Linked DNA regions of Homo sapiens: region 2 is linked to region 1. Evidence: promoter capture Hi-C in human tissues and cell types (Jung and others, 2019). All regions are on one chromosome and are shown on one strand. Each heading gives the region's core, a stretch centred on a gene start or on the middle of the fragment in contact. The rest is flanking DNA. Distances are from core to core; before and after follow the strand shown.

Region 1 (2,647 bases), core at 107-2,606:
AATCTACATAGTCTATGAATTAGGAATATTGTTTTGGAGCAGTCCACAAGCTGAGTCCCAAGTAGAGATCTCTGTTGGGATCTGCTTTTTGCAGTCACTAGTCTCAGTGAACCATACTGTATTTCTAGGAGGTTATTATAGAATTTGTTATTTCACAAATGAAATGTAAAAATTTTATTTTTGTCCGCCCCCCCAAAAAAATAAATAAATAAAAATGACCCAAAAAAGTGATTAAGGATATACAGCAATTCTGAGTTAGAAGGTTAGGATTTGAGTAAAAAATAATAGAAACAAGAAATGGAAGATGGGGAGCCCATTTAAGTAGAGATATTTGTTCTGTTAAAAAAAATCTACACATCTGATTTCTTTTCTTTTTTTTTTTTTTGAGACGGAGTCTCGCTCTGTCGCCCAGGCTGGAGTACAGTGGCGCGATCTCGGCTCACTGCAAGCTCCACCTCCCGGGTTCACGCCAGTCTCCTGCCTCAGCCTCCCGAGTAGCTGGGACTACAGGCGCCCGCCACCATGCCCACCTAATTTTTTGTATTTTTAGTAGAGACCGGGTTTCACCGTTTTAGCCAGGATGGTCTCAATCTCCTGACCTCGTGATCCGCCCGCCTCGGTCTCCCAAAGTGCTGGGATTACAGGCGTGAGCCACCGCGCCCGGCTACACATCAGATTTCTAATGAAATCTGTTGAGTGAATGTTCCTGATGATAGTCTTTGCAGGGTTCTTGTCTTTGTGAGCCGAGAAGACTCCCAAGGATGCCTTGGTTTATTTACTTCCCCTCTCTTTACCTTTAGTTTTTATCTGCCCTAATTGTATGGTTGAGTGCTTTCTCTCCACTGTTAGCAGCTAGCTGATTTCATTTCTGGTTTTTTTGCAAGCAACAACTGTCACTGCATGATATAGGTTGGGTTAATTTTTCCTTTGAATTTACCGGTGACTTGGGCTCATTAACCAGGCGGTCACAAGTGCTGTACAGTAACAGGCTTTCTGTCCCTGTAGAATGGGATGCTTTGTTTTGAAGTGCCCTTGAGACAATCTTAATCTGTAATAACAAAGGAACCTAGAAATCATGTCTTTGAAAATAGACATGTGGTCATTATTTATGATTATAGCAAACTTTAATTTACTGGTACTAATAGTGAGGCTCCATGGTATAGTTAATCACAAAAGTTTATGTTTGGTTCTGGAATTTCTCACGATGTTTCTGGACACCAATTGCTATTCCAGGGATATTTTATTTAGACTGATCATTTAATTGGATTTTAGTCCCTGACAGAGTGGAGGGACAGTTCACAAAAGGGGAAAAAAAAATCAATGGATATATAAAATTTCACTCTCACAAATAAGAAAAGAATTCAAATATATGTAAATGGAAATTATTTACTAATTTCTATCTTAAGTTTTTTTTTTGGCGGGGGACAGGATCTCACTGTCGCCCAGGCTCGAGAGCAGTGGTGTGATCATGGCTTATTGCAACCTCAACCTCTGGGCTCAAGCCATCCTCCCACCTCAGCCTCTCAGGTAGTGGGGACTACAGGTGTGTGTCACCACACCTGGTTAATTGTTTTGTATTTTTCGTAGAAACAAGGTTTCACCATGTTGCCCAGGCTGGTCTTGAACTCCTGGGCTCCAGCAGTCCACCCACCTTGGCCTCCCAAAGTGCTGGGATTACAGGTGTGAGCCTCCACACCTGGCCTTAAGTATTTTTAATGATCATAATTAATTCTGGGGAAAATATGGAAAAATGGGCATATGGCTGATAGGAACATAAATTGGACAGCCTTTCTAGCAAGTAGTTTGGTAACATATTTTAAGCCACTTAAGAAGCTTTTCCAGGGCTGGGGGAAATGGAGAAAGAATACTAATGGGTATGGGTTTCTTTTGGAGTGATGAAAATGTTCTGAAATTACATAAGGCTATTAGTCGTACAGCATTGTGATTTTTTTTTCATCTCTGCTGCTGGCAGATGAATTGAAAGAGAATTTTATCGTATACAAACCATTATCTCAATAAAGCTATTTTCTTACTTTTTTTTTTTTGAAACGGAGTCTTACTCTGTGGCCCAGACTGGAGTGCAGTGGCATGATCTCAGCTCACTGCAACCTCTGCCTCCCAGATTCAAGCAGTTCTCCTGCCTCAGCCTCCCAAGTAGCTGGGACTACCGGCGTGCACCACCATGTCTTGGCTGATTTTTGTATTTTTAGTAGAGATGGAGTTTCACCATGTTGGCCAAAGTGGTCTTGAACTCTTGACCTCAAGTGACCCACCTGCCTCGGCCTCCCAAAGGCTGGGATTACAGGTGTGAGCTACGGTGCCCGACCAATAAAGCTATTTGTTTAAAATAGTTAATGCCTTTGACCCAGTAACATGCTCAGTGATGTATAGTTCAGCTTTTATTACATCAAAAAATTGGAAACTTTTGGCTGGGCGCAGTGGCTCATGCCTATAATTCTCAGCACTTTGGGAGGCCGAGGCAGGCAGGTCACCTAAGGTCGGGAATTCAAGACCAGCCTGACCAACAATGGAGAAACCCCATCTCTACTAAAAATGCCAAATCAGCCGGGCATGGTGGCGCATGCCTGTAATCCCAGCTACCTTGGGAGGCTGAGGCAGGAGAATCCGTTGAACCTGGGAGGCAGAG
Region 2 (2,647 bases), core at 57-2,556, 240 kb before region 1:
GGAAGCAGCTGGACTGCCCCTTTGCCCACTAATATATGGATGTCCACCATCGTGGCTTGATAGGGGCAGTCCACTCCCCGCACCAAGCCTCGGCTGTTACGGCCGAGTCCAAAGCTGCTATCCAAATAGCGAGTCAGCATCGTCTTGGGTGAATCGGCACCATAGATAGATACACACTCCTGGACACTGACTTCATAGGCTATTCGCTCACCCTGGAACCGAACATCAAAAATCCTCAGGCCGCTGAACACCCCATGGCCAAAGGTAAATGACCAGAGGGAGGATACCACCAGGTTTCCTTGCACACTGTACTGGGAACCCTGGGGCGAGAACTGAAGAGGGGGAAGAGGACCTGGAGAGTTCCGAGACCTCAGGGATGAAGCTCCATTTGGTGGAGGTAGAGGGACTCTAACCACTTCCAACCGGCCAGACTTAAACTCCCGTTCCAACTGGCCCAAGTCTGCATAGTAGTGCCCAAGGTAGAAGACCTGCTGGACAGTCCAGTGGGCAGGGTCCAGGGCCCTGTGGTCCAGTAGTAGCTCCAGCCCCACGGGGTGAAGGAAAAGACCAACCCCTGAGATGTTATGGTAGAGGGCCATCCAGGTAGCTCGGTCCCCTGAGCGCAAGCCCCGAGGGGTGGCATGCACAGCTGCCAGGGTAGAGCCATTGTAGTTGAAGGTGGACGACAGGAAGATGGGTGCCTTGGGTAGCTCCACCTCTTTCAGATGCCTCCACATCTGTGTAAACTCAGCTCTCAGCACCGGGCGACGGTGATAGGGCAGGGGCCCGCCGTGACGCTCCACAGTCACATCCCGCATGTACGAGGGGTGAGGCAGCGGCCCCACCACCAGCTCACTCACATTGGGTTGGGGTTGTCCACCAAAGAGGACGATGGCCAGTGCCTCCCGGGCAGGTGGGGGGCTCCCCCTGTCCAGGTGGGCCAGGGCTGCAGCCTTGGGGGGCAGCTGCAGCTCCACTGAGAAGATGCAGTTGTCCGAGGGCTGAGCCTGGGCTGCGTCCACCAGCCCTGGCCCCAGCCGCTGGGTCAGAAAGCGCATCACAGCTGTCAACTCCTCTCGGCTCAGGTCTGCAAACAGCTGGCTCTGGCCAGGGTGTGGCCAGGGCTGGGCCCTATGGGATACAGAGGGGCAGTGGGGAGGCTGGCTGGAACCACCTGGGCTGGTCAGCAAAACATAGGCCAGGGCAAAGATGGTAATGAGGGACAGTGCCAGGAACGCCAGGACTATCTTGAGATGCATGGTGGATGCTGAGAGCTGAAATCAGAATTCTAACAGCTGCTCCTTCCAGTTACTGACATCAAGTCGGGGTTTATATTCGCTAGGATGGATAGGAAGGGAGAAAACTCCACCCCATGGGTTGGGCAGGAAATTTCTGACCTTGATTTATGTAATTCTGTTCCAATTTTCTGTCCTGTGGTTTGGCCCAGGGCACTGCTTCCACATGCATAGCCTCTTCCTTGCCCCTGAACTCCCACTGGTAGCAGTCAGTACCAACTACTGATTTCCATCATTTAGACCAGATGAAAGGGAATCTGGGTTAACGATGCTAACCTCCAGTTTCCACCTGGAATGGGTCTCAGGAAGAGTACAAACCTCAGATGCCCAATTAAGTTCTGCAGCCTGCATGCAAGCACTAAGCTGTCCATTTTCCTACCTCCTGGCAGGAACTGCATCCCAACAGCTCCAGGATTCACTGCCATGTTCAGCAGTAAGCACTGAATTCTACTTGTTGCCTAATGCCAAGCCCTTGATTTGTAGTCAGGCCATTTCCAACCAGTGGAGTGGCTGAGGGCCTGGGCTTAGTAATCAGGTTTGTCCACCAATCCCAGTTCCCTCAGCTGTGTAACCTTAGCGGAAATACTTATCCTGAGTCTCAGTGTCCTCATCTGTAACAAATAGATACAACTATCCTATAGATTCCTGAAGATTAAATGTGATCATGCACATTAGGTACTTAACAGCCTGGCACAGGGGAGGCACTCACAAACCGCTAGCTTTTGGTAGTCATCTCTGAAACAGAACAGAGCAGCTGCTCCTCCATTGTTCAAGACCTTAAACTCTTTTTACAGAGACAACGAGGGGATCATTGGAAACCAGAAGGCTACTTGCAAGGTGGAAGATGAGGAAACTTTATTTCAGAGGGAGATAGATTCCTAGGCAGCCCTCCAAGTAATTTGAAAACCAAAACTAGGAGTCTCCTCAAGAAACTGAAGACATTATTCAGGAAGAATTAGTATAAGGTAAAGAAAATGACTGGGTAGGACGCGCCTTGAACCAGTTCATTCCTTACACATGGAACGATAGCAGCCTCTACTGGCAGTTCATGGGTATCACTCGGGAAGGAAGGAACTAGGATCTTCTGAAAGTAGGGAGAGAAGGCAGCTTAGGTCTGGGAAGAGCTAACTTTCCCATAATTCAGACTGAACACAAATGAAGCACCCAACCTTGCTCAGTAGGCAGAAGCCTCAGTCTTTCCACTATACTGGGGAAAAGATTCAGCTCAACTGGCATAAGGACACACAACAGGGTGGCTAGGTGTCCATGGAGGTGGGTGTCCAAGCGTGCACACATATGAGCATGAGTACATCCCTAGCCACCAGAGCATTGCACCAGGGTCTGCGGCTTTA

Evidence for each region. Contacts are between HindIII fragments. The study calls those that stand out against the background at their distance.
Region 2: a contact is called between the fragment with the promoter of AOC2 here and a fragment that was not itself captured in region 1, in 10 of the 25 tissues and cell types used here (H1 embryonic stem cells, IMR-90 fibroblasts, adrenal gland and 7 more).

What each region holds. Positions count from the first base shown.
Region 1 is chr17:42,601,715-42,604,361 of GRCh38, reverse strand. All of the region lies in intron 1 of RETREG3 (reticulophagy regulator family member 3), which reads left to right. Among named protein-coding and RNA genes, the nearest start is that of RETREG3, 6.3 kb to the left of the region's middle. The HindIII fragment of the contact is 8,726 bases long and covers 1-2,647 here.
Region 2 is chr17:42,843,239-42,845,885 of GRCh38, reverse strand. AOC2 (amine oxidase copper containing 2) reads right to left here and starts at 1,306. Exons shown (of 4, transcript NM_009590.4): 1 at 1-1,306. The coding sequence starts at 1,259. It overlaps PSME3 (proteasome activator subunit 3), which reads right to left. Exons shown (of 11, transcript NM_005789.4): 11 at 2,126-2,647. The HindIII fragment of the contact is 18,620 bases long and covers 1-2,647 here.